Regions from separate parts of the Homo sapiens genome. Here region 1 is linked to region 2. The links are contacts of gene promoters, found by promoter capture Hi-C in blood cells and fetal thymus (Javierre and others, 2016). All regions are on one chromosome and are shown on one strand. Each heading gives the region's core, a stretch centred on a gene start or on the middle of the fragment in contact. The rest is flanking DNA. Distances are from core to core; before and after follow the strand shown.

The links. Contacts are between HindIII fragments. The CHiCAGO score rates a contact against its expected background, and 5 or more counts as called.
Region 1: a contact is called between a fragment that was not itself captured here and the fragment with the promoter of KLK13 in region 2, in 1 of 17 cell types (M1 macrophages). The highest score is 5.3, in M1 macrophages.

What each region holds. Positions count from the first base shown.
Region 1 is chr19:50,933,369-50,940,844 of GRCh38, reverse strand. No RefSeq gene overlaps it. Among named protein-coding and RNA genes, the nearest start is that of PPIAP59, 9.5 kb to the right of the region's middle. RefSeq lists a silencer at 1,644-1,807. The HindIII fragment of the contact is 3,837 bases long and covers 1,252-5,088 here.
Region 2 is chr19:51,062,173-51,069,038 of GRCh38, reverse strand. KLK13 (kallikrein related peptidase 13) reads left to right here and starts at 3,947. Exons shown (of 5, transcript NM_015596.3): 1 at 3,947-4,023. The coding sequence starts at 3,972. The HindIII fragment of the contact is 5,030 bases long and covers 2,567-6,866 here.

The DNA of each region.
Region 1 (7,476 bases), core at 1,921-4,420, 130 kb after region 2:
CCTAAGACTGGGTAATTTATAAAGGAAAGAGGTTTGATTGACTCATAGTTCAGCATGGCTGGGGAGGCCTCAGAAAACTTACGATCATGGTAGAAGGGGAACCAAACATGTCCTTCTTCACAGGGTGGCCGAAAGGAGAAGGGCAAACTGAAGGGGGAAAATTATAAAACCATCAGATCTTGTGAGAACTCACTACTATCACAAGAATAGCATGGGGGGACTGTCCCCATGATCTAATCACCTCCCATGAGATCCCACCCCCAACACGTGGGGATTATGATTCAAATTAAAATCCAAGATGAGATTTGGGTGGGGACACAGGGCCAGGCCATATCAGTTATCAAAAGAATATCCATTAATTTAAATTGGAAAATGTCAGGGCAGAAGCAGCTGCCTGTGGGATCTCTATCCCTTCTCCCCTAGGTATGTGTCTTTCACGGTCTCTTTCTTCTCATCCCACCTCTGTTTTCTCATTACATTGACTGCCTGTTGCCTATCAAAGCATCTCTTCTCTCCCCCATAACTGGCTCCAGTTACTGGGTTTTCTTTGTTCATAGCCCCTAGAGAAAAAATCTGGTTGGCTGTCCTAGGGTCAGATGCAGACTCTATCTCTAGTCTGAAAGGTGGGCCCACAGAGTGCAACATGGATCCCCCAGCCACCCCTTCATCCATAGCAGTGGGCAGGGCAGGGCCCCTAAGAAGGTTGTGGGCGTGGTAGTCATTGAAATGGACAACACATCAACACATGGACATTCTAGTCTTCAGCACTTTCTGAGTGACCTGTGTAAAGGTCATTTGTACTTTTTCTGGACCTCAGTTTCTCTACCTGTAAAATGGGAGGATTGAAACGTAATGATCTCCACGTGCCAATCCAGCTCTAAGATTTCTCAAGATACTCACAGGTGGTTATAGAAAGTCACTCCAGGGAATACTTTGGAAATTGAACACTCTAGAAAAGGAATTACACTAGAAAATTTTGTCAGTAACAAAATACCCAACTCAAAGTGGGTTAAGCAATAAGGACGTGTATTATTTCACATAATAAGAAGCCCCAAAAGAGGGAAGTACTGTGGTTTGGTGATTCCTACATTACATCATTAGGGACCCATCTTTCTTCTCTACTGCCCTCTGCATTCATTCATTCATATATTTATTCAACTCATGAGCACCTATGAGAGCCAAGTAATATTATAGACACTTGGGATAGACTGATTAATAAAACAGACACCAAACCCCTGCCTTCCTTAAGCTTATGTTCTAGCAGGAAGAAGAAAATATGTCAGCTTTCTCCTTTAGGCTTGTAATCTCGTGGCTGTAAAATGGCTGCCACAGCTCCAGACATCACATCCTCACGCACCATGACAAAAGGCAGGAAGGAGAGACTCTGTTGGCAGAGCTCTCTTCATTAGGAAAGAAAGTCTTTTCCAGAGTCCCCCCACACCCCTGGATCTGTTCTTGGGTCTCAATGACCACTCATTGGAGAAGGTCCCAATGCTGACACTCTAGCTTCAAGAGAAGCTGAGAAAGTGAGTTTCTGACATTTCTCTGTCACGGGTGCAGTCCTTACCAGCAAGGAAGAAGAGATAAGAAGTGTCTGCCTGATGAACAGTCAAAGGTGTGAGAGAAGGACACATACATCAAAATGATCCAATAATTGTCACCTTTATCTTCCCCTTTGTGCCTAGCCATTTACAAGTCCTCACGACTTTTTAGGGGACATTCCAGAAAGACTGGGCTGCCAGGGTGTGTGGTGTGGTGTGAAAATAGGGGCAAATAGTACTGGGTGACAGTTGTAATTCAATGTTTGTTTTTTGTTTTTGTTTTTCTTTAGACAGAGTCTCACTCTGTCACCCAGGCTGGAGTGCAGTAGCGTATTCTCGGCTCACTGCAACTTCCACCTCCCCAGTTCAAGCAATCCCCATGCCTCAGCCTCCTGAGTAGCTGGGACTATAGGTGTGAGCCACCATGCCTGGCTAATTTTTGTATTTTTAGTAGAGACAGGGTTTCGCTATGTTGGCCACACTGGTCTCGAACTCCTGACCTCAGGTGATCTGCCTACCTCAGCCTCCCAAAGTGCTGGGATTACAGGCGTGAGCCATCTGGCCTCAATTTTTTTTTTCTTAATCTTAAAAAAATCTAGATAGGAGCAGAATCCTAGCTAAGGGGCAGTCTTGAGCACATTTTCCAAAATGATGTTTCCGGTTAAGCTGCTTTGAGGAACAAGAGAAGATTCATGCTGGCTTCAATAGTAAATAAGTTTTAATTTCACATATCAAGAAATCCAGGTAAGGGCAGCTCCAGACACAGGGCGTCAGGCTGTGTTTCGCTTGGTTCTCCTCGGCGGGGGGTCATCATCCTTAAGATCAACACCCGTAGTGGGTCTGTCTTTGAGAAGGATGATGCTTTTCCAGAAACCACCCCAGCAGAATTTTATCTTATTCTTACTGGCCAGAATTGGGTCACATGTCCTTTCCTAAACCAGTCACAGACTGGTGGGGTGGGGTGGGGAGTGGGGTGGAGAGGTTAACATGGTTGATTTGAACCAAACAGGATTATTCTTTCACGATGGAGTGGAGGACCTCCCCTAAAGCATGTAGAAGCTGCTCCTTGAGAGAAATCAGGATTCCGACATCAAAGAACGGGAGGAACAACCAATGATGTCTGCCCCATAGATGCCCTTGCAGCAATATTTTAAATTAACTTTTATTGAAAGATAATGCACAGGGCCGGGCATGGTGGCTCACACCTGTAATCCCAGCACTTTGGGAGGCCGAGGCGGGTGGATTACCTGAGGTCAGGAGTTCGAAACCAGCATGGCCAATGTGGCGAAACCCTGTCTCTACTAAAAATACAAAAATTAGCCGGGCTCGGTGGTGGGCACCTGTAATCCCAGCTACTCGGGAGGCTGAGGCAAGAGAATCGCTTGAACCTGGGAGGTGGAGATTGCAGTGAGCCAAGATCACGCCATTGCACTCCAGCCTAGATGACAGAATGAGACTGTCTCAAGAAACAAAAAAAGAAAGAAAGAAAGAAAGAAAGAAAGAAAGAAAGAAAGAAAGAAAGAAAGAAAGAAAGGAGAAAGAAAGAAACATGCACAGAAGTATCATAAATGGCAGTGAAGTTTCACAAAACAGAACACACCCTTGTAACCAGCATTCAGACAGAGCCACGGAACCTAAGCATCTCCTCAGAAAAACCAGTGGGGTCTTCCTTGCAGTCACTACCTCCCCTGCCAAATGTAGCCGCTTCCATTACTACCTAAATCCCTCGCCTGCAAGGGTAGCGACTTTCATGACTTCTCCCCAAGTGTAGCAACTTTTGTGACTTCTATCACCATAAATTAATTTGTCCCATTTATGAACAACATATAAATATAAATTTATTTACATAGACATATAGAAGTATAATAAGTTTATATAAATAAATCATTTGGGAGGCTGAGCCGAGTGGATCACGAGGTCAAGAGATCGAGACCATCCTGGCCAGCATGGTGAAACCCCGTCTCTACTAAAAATACAAAAATTAGCCGGACATGGAGGCATGCACCTGTAATCCCAGCTACTTGGGAGGCTGAGGCAGGAGAATTGCTTGAACCTGGGAGGCAGAGGTTGCAGTGAGCTGAGATCGTGCCACTGCTCTCCAGCCTGGTGACAGAGTGAGACTTTGTCTAAAAAAACAAAAAAACAAACAAACAAAAAAAGCAATGAGTGTCTTATATTATTTTGTGTTGGGCTTTTTTTTTTCTCAGTATTATATATTGTGTGGTCCGCCCAGGTTTTTGTTTATGGTTGTAAATGTTTTATTCTCATCGTTGCACAGTATACCATTGTGTAAATGTACTCCGATTTATTGAGCCATTTTTTTACTATGAGGAGACATTTGGATAGTTTCTAGTTTCTTTAACAGTTGTAAAGGTAATACACTTGTGGAACAATTGCTACAACCGTGATGAAAAGAAGAGAGGCCGGGCATGGTGGCTCACACCTGTAATCCCAACTACTTCAGAGGCTGAGGCAGGAGGATTGCTTGAGCCCAGGAGTTCGAGACCAGCCTGGGCAACAAAGCCAGACCCTGTCTCAAGAAAAATAAACCAAGAGTTTAGGAGAAACAGTGTGCTTGGTTCTCTGCCCACCAAAGATGCAAGCACTATCCCCACGCTGATTGTTGCTAATGGCAGAGCCTGGATGCATTTTCCCATCAAGTTCAGGCTCAAGGGCAAACAGGCGAACAGAGGGGAGATGTGTGTGGACTAAGAGGCAGAGGTTGGTGTTTTGTGACTTGTCTGACTTGGCACAGGGCAAGCTGGGTGCAACTGAGATGTGCTTATCATTCTTCCCACTGCATTACTGACGAGCCCGAGTATTGCTCAGATTGGCATATGACCTGGATACATCCGGGTGGCCATGTCATCCAGTTATAAGCAAGAAGACAAAGCTGGAGTTTCTGGGAAAGTTTTTGTTTTGCTGATAAAAGAGAAAGAGTAGGCTGGGTGTGGTGGCTCACACCTATAATCCCAGCACTTTGGGAGGCCGAGGCAGGTGGATCACGGGGTCAGGAGTTCGAGACCAGCCTGGCCAACATGATGAAACCCCATCTCTACTAAAAACACAAAAATTAGCTGGGCACAGTGGTGGGCACCTGTAATCCCAGCTACTCAGGAGGCTGAGGCAGGAGAATTGCTTGAACCCGGAAGGTGGAAGTTGCAGTGAGCCGAGATCGCACCACTGCATTCCAGCCTGGGCGACAGAGCAGGACTCTGTCTTAAAAAAATAAAAAATATAAATAAATAAATAAATAGGAGAGAGAGAGTAATGTTTGGACCTTTGGACCTTCCCTTCCACCTCTTCTCACCTGGAATATGGGTGCCTGGAGACGGACCAGCCACCTTGCATGATGAGAATAAAAGCCGCAGGATAAAGATGGGATTACAGAAAGCAGCTCACATTTCTGATGATTTCCTTCGGAGCTCCATGCATGGACTTCCTACATCTGGGCTTGGAACAGGCAGAATACAATCTTGGGTGTCCGGGCTACCGTAGTTGGTTTTCTATATGCCGATATAGAGAGGATGGTATGGGAAATGAAGCTTCTGGAAACTGAAAGATGAGCTAAGACATTGTGCAGATTTTCCTGGGCAGCCTTGACTTTCTTTTCCTGGATGAAGATGTCTTTTTAACATGGAGGCTGGATCCAGAACCAGGAGGGGACAGATGTCTGTAAATTGTTCCCATTAAGGGTGGAGGAGATCAGTGTATTTCCTGCATGGTGATGTAAGTGGTGAGAAAAATGCGGCTGTGGCGGTGCAAGAAATAAGCTCCTCGCCCTACTCGATATTAAGACATGCTACAAAACAAAATCAGTGTTTTTAAAAAAGGGTGGGATCAGTGCAAGAACAGACAAGTAGACCAGAGAGGCAGGAGAGAGGTCCCAGAAAGAGAATCATAGGAAACTGATGTATCATCATATAATATATTAGGGACTTAATATAAGATAAAATATCAACACAAATTAGTGGGAGAATGATGGTATATTTAGTAAGTGGCATTAGAAAAACTCGTCTGCTGTGCAGAGAAAAAGAAACCTAGATTTCTAATACTACACATGAAATTGGATTCCAGCTGTATTAAAGACCACTGAAAGATAATATTATAAAATTAATAGAAAAAATCATGGTGAATATATATTTATTTTATTTATTTTTTTATTTTTTTGAAGACTCTATCGTCCAAGCTGGAGTGCAGTGGCATGATCTGGGCTCACTACAACCTCTGCCTCCCCGGCTCAAGCGATTCTCATGCCTCAGCCTCCCAAGTAGCTGTAACTACAGGCACATGCCACTACGTCCAGCTGCTTTTTCTATTTTTGGGTAGAGATGGGGGTTTTGCCATGTTGGCCAGGCTGGTCTCAAACTACTGACCTTAAGTGATCCTCCTGCCTTGGCATCCCTGTGCTGGGAATACAGGCATGAGCCACAACACCCGGCCTATTTTTGAATCTCTGTGATAGGGGATGACTTCTTAAGACCTAAAAAAAACACACATCATATGACAAAACATTGATTAGTTTGATTATTTTAAAATTAAACACTTTGGTTTAAGAGAAGGTAAGGACGATTCATAGGCATTTATCAGAATGGGAGAAGTTATTTGTAACATCCAAAATGGACAAAGAACTAGAACCTGTAATATGCAAGAAGCACCTGTGAATTAATGAGAAAAAATATGGATATCCTTATAGGTAAATGGATAAAAGCTACAAAGAGGTGATTTGCAGAAGCAGAATTCCAAAAGCTAACATGCACATAGAGATGTTCAAGGCCAGGCGCGGTGGCTCGTGCCTGTAATCCCGGCACTTCGGGAGGCCGAGGCAGGCGGATCACTTGAGCTCAGGAGTTCAAGAACACCCTGGGCAACATGGCGAAACACGGCCTCTATAAAAAAATATTAAAAATGAGCCAGGCATGCAGGCGTGGTGGCGGGCGCCTGTAGTCCCAGCTACTCGGGAGGCTGAGGCAGGAGAATGGCGTGAACACGGGAGGCGGAGCTTGCAGTGAGCCGAGATCACGCCACTGCAATCCAGCCTGGGCAACAGAGCGAGACTCCGTCTCAAAAAAAAATAAAAAATAAAAAATAAAATAAAATTAGCCAGGCATGGTGGTGTCAGCCTGTGGTCCCAGCTACTCTTGAGGCTGAGGTGGGAGGATCACTTGAGCCTGGGAGGCTGCCATGAGCTGTGATCGCAGACTGACACCTGGTCTCTAAAAAGAGAGAGAGATGTTCAAACTTTTTAGATACTGTAACTTGAGATGTGACTTTACATCAAGTAGTCTTCTCATTTTGAGAAGGGCAGACAAGGTCAAGGGCTGTCAGGGATGTGTAGACATTCGAATGTTCAAGTGCAACTGGGTTGAGTGTGGTGTCTCCAATTATGAAGACGGAGCTGATGCTATTTCATCAAACAAGTATACACACACCCAATGACTCAGCGATTTCTCTCCTGGCTACACATCCCAAAGAAATTCTTACACACCCACAAGGGGACACGTACAAGCTTGTGCTTTGCAGTGTTCTTTGCAGTGGCCAGAAACTGGAAGCCACCAAGTGCCCATCAGTAGGGGAATTGTGTAAATGTGGTGGACGTCCCGCCATGAAGTTCCTATGCAGAAGTCAGATGCAACGAACACATGTATGAACACGTAACAACACGGGTGGGCCTTAAAAACATAGTGCTATTTGCAAAGTGGCTTAGGATAGAGTAAGAATATCACCTAATGCCAGTTAAGTAAATTAAAGTCACACATTCACTCATACATAAGAACCACACTGCACATTTTGTAGGACTGAGGGAGAGTGGGAGGGAGGAAAAGAAGGCACAGAAAGAGAGAGAGAAAATGAAGAAAGGGGCCGGGCATGGTGGCTCATGCCTGTAATTCCAGCACTTTGGGAGGCTGAGGTGGGCAGATCACCTGAGGTCAGG
Region 2 (6,866 bases), core at 2,698-5,197:
TGTAGTATATTTGCATGCTAATGGGGCTGCTCCTTGGAGAAGAAGGAAAACATGTTGCAGGAAAGAGAACAGAGAACTGCTGGCTGGAGCAATGCCCTCCAGAAGGCAAGAGAGGACAGGATACCAGCACCAGTGGAGGCATCTATCTTAGCTGCAGGTGCAGACTGTTCATCTAGAGAAATGGGAGAGGAGACAGAGGATGTGGGCACGCAGGTAGGTGGCAAGACCGACCTTTCTAATTTTTGCTATTCTGATGGATGAAAGCGATGTGTTATTGCTGCCTGGGATGCATGATGACTGGAGCCACATCCTGAATAACACGGATCCAGCTCTAAAGAAGAATCCATGTTTCTCAACTCTCTGTGCCTCTTTCTCACCAAGAGTCTGCTTCTCACTGGGCATCTCTCTCTTTCTATCTCTGTGCCTCTGTCCTCTGAATTTTCTTTCTGTCCTCTCCCACCTGCCCCATCTTTCTGTCTCTGTGTATTTAGCCCTTTGTATCTCTCAGTCTTCCCCTCCCTTCATGTTTGCGTTGGGGCCCCTCCTCTGGGCCTGGGTGTGGGGCCTACTTTCTCATCCCAGCTAGCACTTCCAACCAGAAGTTCCAGTTCCTGCTTGACAAAGAATCCCATTTTGAAGCCAAGATAGGGAGGGGCCTCCTGGAACCGTCAGATGCCTCCATCTTAAGCTTTACTTATTTAACAGGAGCATTGTGGCCCTTGGTCCATGCCACACTCTCTTCGAAGCATTTTTGGGTATTAATCCAGTTAACCCTTCTCCATAAGGCAAGTGCTATTGATTGTGCCATTTTACAAATGGGGATGCTGAGGCACAGAGCAGTCACATCATCTGAACTCAGGCAGTCTAGCTCCAGAGTCTGAGGTCAGAACCACTAGGAACACCATCTCTTTTTCGGGTCCTTTCTTCTTCTTTCTCCAGCCCGGTTCTCTGTGGTGGAGGAAAGACCTGCACCTGTGACAGAAGCGCACTTGGATTTGGTCCAGTTTGTGTGTGACTTTCAGCCGTGGGCTTGTTCATCAAGTGAGGGGGTGGAAGGTGCCCAGCCCTCAGTGGGTCCATGACCTCACTTCAACCAGAGCTACCCAACCCGCGTTCGGCCAATCATAACCCCTAACATCAATTTGACCTGGCACTCACCCCTCAGCAAATAACAAGGCCAACCACCCTCACTCCAGGCTCCAGCTTTTCCCAAGTGAGAAAGGCTTCTCTGGAAGCATGGACCCAGGTCACAGGAGGGTACAAGTACCCCGATTTCCCACATAAGCTGGTTGCCGCACTTAACCTGGCATCCTACCTCCAGCCACACCACCTGAACACAATTCCACTCAAAAAGTGAACTCAGACCCCGCCCTGTGAGGTGGGAGAAGTCCAGGGTGGAGAAAGACAGTGACCTTTCTTTCACCTTGAGAGGTGGGGTATGACCCAGCTCACCCCCACCAAAACCTACTGCATCATAGACACTCAACCTCATGGCCAGTCCTCATCACCCATGTCAACCCACTACCCCAGCTCAACCACATCTTAACATTTCCCCATCCAAAACCTCAATCTTGGTTCCATCTTCAGCCCCAACCCAACAGTACCCCAACACCAACTTATCCCTAGATACCTCCCATCTTACAATCTAATCCTATCCCAAAACCAGCTCAACTACCACCTCCAACTCTATACCCATCCTCATCCAATTTTCATTCACCTCCCCAAACTCATTGCATTCCTAATGTTGTCATCAGGCCCATCCTTAACCATAGACTCTACTGATTTCCTATATTAAGCCATATTTTTCTTCTTAGCAAAATACTTTGAAATGGACCCAACATTGGACACTGAGGTGTCGCCAATGCAAAGTTAGATGGGTTATCTGATTTTATGAGGTCTCTGTACCCTTTCCTGTCTTTGAGCCACTTTATGACTCTAAATTGTAGGTATCTGAGAGCAATGCAAATAATTCTTGTCCATAAATGTTTACATGAATTTTGCCAGGTGGAAGTACAATGGATTTCCCTCCTCCTCCCAGTGTGGAATAGCCAGTTTTGCATCTATTTGTAAATTCATTTCAGCATTCCTCGTTGTCTCTGTGCATATGGCTCTTTGTAACATCTTACTGGCTCTGCCATTTATTAATGAGTCAAGATACAATCTTTGACACATGTTCATTTCATATATGTCAGAGAGTCATGGTAAGACCATGTTTTAAAAGTTACCCTTTGACACTAGATTTGATCTCCACATCCAAATCTGAACTCCATCAATAAGGACTGTACAAGTTTCCATGTGAGCCCTCGCCCCATCCATCTCTATTCTTTATCCTCATTGTGACACCTCCACTCTCTCACTCTTTCCAAACTTCATCTGGTCCACGTCCCTGGCTTTCTTCCAAATTCTGACCCCACCTCAGTCCTTAATCCCTAATCCTGTCCCCTCCACCCCCTAGGATTAACTCAGGGCTCCACCCAGTCATAGTTCCTGGAGACACCTACTCATTCTCAAAACACCACCCCTTCCTCCTTCCTCTCCCCCACCCCCAATCCACGTCTTCAAAGCTTTCCGGCTCCTGCTTTTTCCTCTCCACCTAGGTCCCCGTGGACTCCCTCACCCCCTCTGGCCCTGCTCCTAAAAGGCCATTTCTGGAAAATGTTGCTTTCTCAGGTCGCATCTCTGCCCCCATCCAAGTCCGAGGGAGCTGATTTTCTATCCACCCAGCTGATGATTTCCTTCTTGTGTCCGGTGGTTGGCGGGAGCAGGGAGGCAGGATGATGGGATAATTGTGGGTGTCCTTGTGTCTTTCAAAAGAAAAAGGGTTGAGATGAGACTGGGAATTGGAACCTGGATGTGTTGAGAGCTAAACCTGAGATGAGGTTGGAGATGGGACTGGGGTTGAGGAACAGGCTGGAGTACTTGGTATGGTTAGGGATGGATAGGGAGGTGGGAATCTGATAGAACACGGCCATCTGGGGGCTGACTGCCTATTAAGAATTATGCATGGGGTTGGAGAAGAGGTTAGAAAACTGGGTGCAGAATGGGTTGAAGTTAGGGATGGGCATGGAACTCAGCGGGGTAGGGGGAAGGAAATGGGCTTTCCCCTTACCCTTTTTTGGGTCCTGAGGCCTGAAAGTTCACAGTGGGTTCAACTCTGCCTTGGGCGGGGTCAGACCTAGGTCCCAGCACGTCCTGGAAGCTCCGCCCCAAGCAGAGGGCCAAGCCCAGGTCGGGGGTGCCTGGAGACATCCCGCTGAGCCACTGGGGGTGGAGAGGGGGAGGCCAGGGACCAGGAAATGCTGAGTGAGCTGGGGGAGGGAGTTCAGGGGTTAAAAGCCATGGTTCGGGGCTGAAGTTCTAGACAGCTGGCGGCTGACGCTCCTCGTGGGCCCCTCACTCAGGTAGGGTCTGCCTGGGGCGGGGGCGGGGAGCGGAGGAGGGCAGGGAGGGGAGAGAAGAGGGGATAGGAAGGATGGGGAAAGCAGAAGGGCAGCTGAGTCAGGGAGAGGGAGAGTGAAGCTAGAGTCTCAGATCTAGAGAGAAACCTGCAGAGACGGAGAGAGGCGAAGGGCGCGGACAGATAAGAACTTGGGCTAATACCAAGCGTGTGGACAGACCCAGAGGGGTAGAATGGAAGGCAGACTCTGGAGGAAAAGGGCGAGAGTGCACCGACCACCCAGCTCGCCAGAGGGCAGGGGAGGAGGGACGGCTTCCTGGGGTGAGGGGCTGCACGCCGGAGCCCCAGGAGGTTGCACACTGTTCCTCCCACCTCGCCACTGCACCCCCACCAAGGATGGAATTGGAGGCGGGGGGCAGATTCCAGGGTCAGGGCTGTCAAGAGTGAATGAGGCGAGGAGACATTCAGGAGCAGAGAGGTTTCAGACGCGGAGGTTCCGGGCACGCCCTCAACACCCCCTTCACCTTCTCCTCAGGCCCCGCCCGCCCTGCCCTCCCCTCCCGATCCCGGAGCCATGTGGCCCCTGGCCCTAGTGATCGCCTCCCTGACCTTGGCCTTGTCAGGAGGTAAGAATGCGCGGGGGTGGAGGCGCGGCGGCCATTCGGGACAATGGTAGGAGGGGTCAGGCCGGAGGGGGAGGGGGCGTGGGAGCCGCGAGCTCCGCCCCCCGCCCACTCGGGGCCGGGTCCAGTGGGGACAGCTCAGAGCTCTTCCTGCTTGTCCCTGGGTGACCTGGTTTCCCGGCTGAGGTTGGCCCTCCGACCCCAGACCCTTCACCTCCCAAAATACCCTCGCAGCAGCCCCTCCCGCGTTCAAGGCTTCCTGTCCTCTCTGGAAAGCTGAAAGACATGGGTTCGCGTCCTGACGCTGCCGCTTTGAGCCAGTAGCCTAGCAGCTGCTTTGTGCCTAAATTGTTTTCATCTGGAAAATGGGCTTAATCTATAAGTGCTTACCAGAGAAGGTCACTGTGAATATTGAAACGAGGTAATGCGTCGAGCCTTCAGTATGTCGCAGGTAGAAGGGACTTGAAAGTTAGCCACTTAGCCGTTATTACTTTATTAGTAGTATTCCTTTTTTTTTTTTTTTTTTTTTTTGAGATGGAACCTTGCTCTGTCTCCCAGGCTGGAAGGCAGTGGCACGATCTTGGCTTACTGAAACCTCCGCCTCCCGGGTTGAAGCGATTCTCCTGCCTCAGCCTCCCGAGTAGCTGGGATTACAGGCGCCCGCCACCACGCCCAACTAATTTTTGTATTTTCAGCAGAGACGGGGTTTCGCCATGTTGGTTAGGCTGGTCTCGAACTTCTAACTTCAAGTAGCCCGCGTCAGCCTCCCAAAGTGCCAGGATTACAGGCATGAGCCACCGAGCCCGGCCTCTAGTATTCTGTCTTCATACTCAGCCCCTTCCAGAACCTTCTAGATTGTTATTTTAATCCTTGGGTTGACCCCAAACCTATGTGACCTCACCCCAAATTGGTAGTCCTTAAGATCCTTATGGATCTTTCCCATCTTTCCCTGCCGTTGTAGGCAGGTTCTCTGGAAACCCCGTTCATGAATCATTTATTCATTCAACAAACAGCTATTAAACACCGGCCACTGTGCTGGGTGCTGTACAAGCAGAGACACAGTCCCTGCTCTCAGCACCTGGAGTCTAGCGGGGACAGACGCAGATGTTATTCAAACAATTATCCAAATAATTAGTTAATAATTATCTTGACATGAGGTGAAGACTTCAAGGAGCCAAGCCAGGGGCCTAGAGATGTAATGGCGGCTTCCCGACCAGAGGCCTTCCCAAAGGGCTTGACCCTTGAGCCAAGACCTGAAAAAGGAGGGATCTGTGGGTGCCTGGCACCTGGCACCATCCTTGGCCTGAAGGTGGGGTGGCTTTTCTCCTCTGGCGACACTCCCTGGATTCATGCCCGTGCCACTCCTGAGTGCCACACCCTAGGCTAGGAGACCCACACGCTACGCCTTGTGGAGTCCTCAACAACCTGGCGAGGTAGGTGCATTGTAATTACTCCAATTTCATGGCAGAGAAACCTAGGACTCAAAGACAGAAGGCTCCTGCTCCAATGACACCGGCGATGCCTGAGTCAGAATCCTAATCAAGGTTGTTTTCCCTGTCCATATCCTGGACTTGAGGCTCTGAAAACCATTTTTATAACTTTTGACCTAATCATTTGCTTAAAGTTAGCTTTTTTTCTTCTTTTTTCACTCAAACAAAAGCATGTTCAACTTTATATTACTGTCCTGAATAGAGAATAGAATTCTTTGTCATAAATAGAAGGTAAGGAAGGAAATAAATCCTGCACAATGAAAAGAAAATAATATGTTTATTGGGTTGGACCACCTGAAATTGCTGATACTTGACCCTTTTTGACCTTCCTAAAACAACTTTTGCAGATGGTTCAGTGTAATAAATGTTAGGTGGCCTGATGAGGCTTCTGTGTCCTCCTGGCTTTGAAAAGTGAGCTCAGTGAGGATTAGGGAGGTGTTAAAACCATATTAGCACCATCCTGAGACTTTATCCTTGACAAAATCAGGTTTAAAAGAGAACTGGATGCTGGTTCAGCGTCTGAGTGTGCGATTTAACGTTACTTAAATCTCATCTCTCTACCATCTAAAATGATCCTGTGCTCACCGACAACTTCTGTCCCTAACTGCAAACCACTGAGCTAATCCAACTGCTTGCCCTGTAGTTGGGGAAACTAGCTAGGGAGGCAGAGGGACCTCCTGTTGTAGCTAATAATTAATAATAACATTTCCCACTGACTGAGTGCTCTCCATGCCACCTGCTGTGCTGCACGGTTTGAAATGCAGGATCATCTTGAATTCTTCAACTGCGCAATGAGAGATGAACTATTACTTTTTCTACTTGACAGCTGGGGAAACTGAGGCTGGTGATTTGCATAAGGTCACACAGTCACAAAATGGCATGCATGTTCAGGATTGGATTCTCCCTGTCCCACGGACCCCTGCTGTGCTTTCAATGCCAGACACAGTGCCTGGCACACACAGCATTTATTTATTGAGCCCCCATTGTGTGCCAGGCGCTGTGTTAGGTCCTGGGAATATGGTACTGAATAAAGCAGTTAAGGTGCCTGTTGTCAATGGAGCTTACAGTCAAAGTGGAGAGATTTTTAAAAACGAATACATACAAATGTGAAGAGAAATGAATAGCAATCATTGTTCTGATGAAGACCAACTGGAAGAATGTAATGGGGGAGGAGTCGGGACCAGGAGAGTCAACATTAGACCAGGTGGTCAGGGAAGGCCTTTCTGAAGAGGAGACATTTGAGCTGACCTCTCAGAATTAAGAAGGACCCAGACATACAACCTCTAAATTCTGAGGGTCATCCAGTAGAATATTCCATATATGTATATATGAAATATCCTATATCTGTGCTGTCCA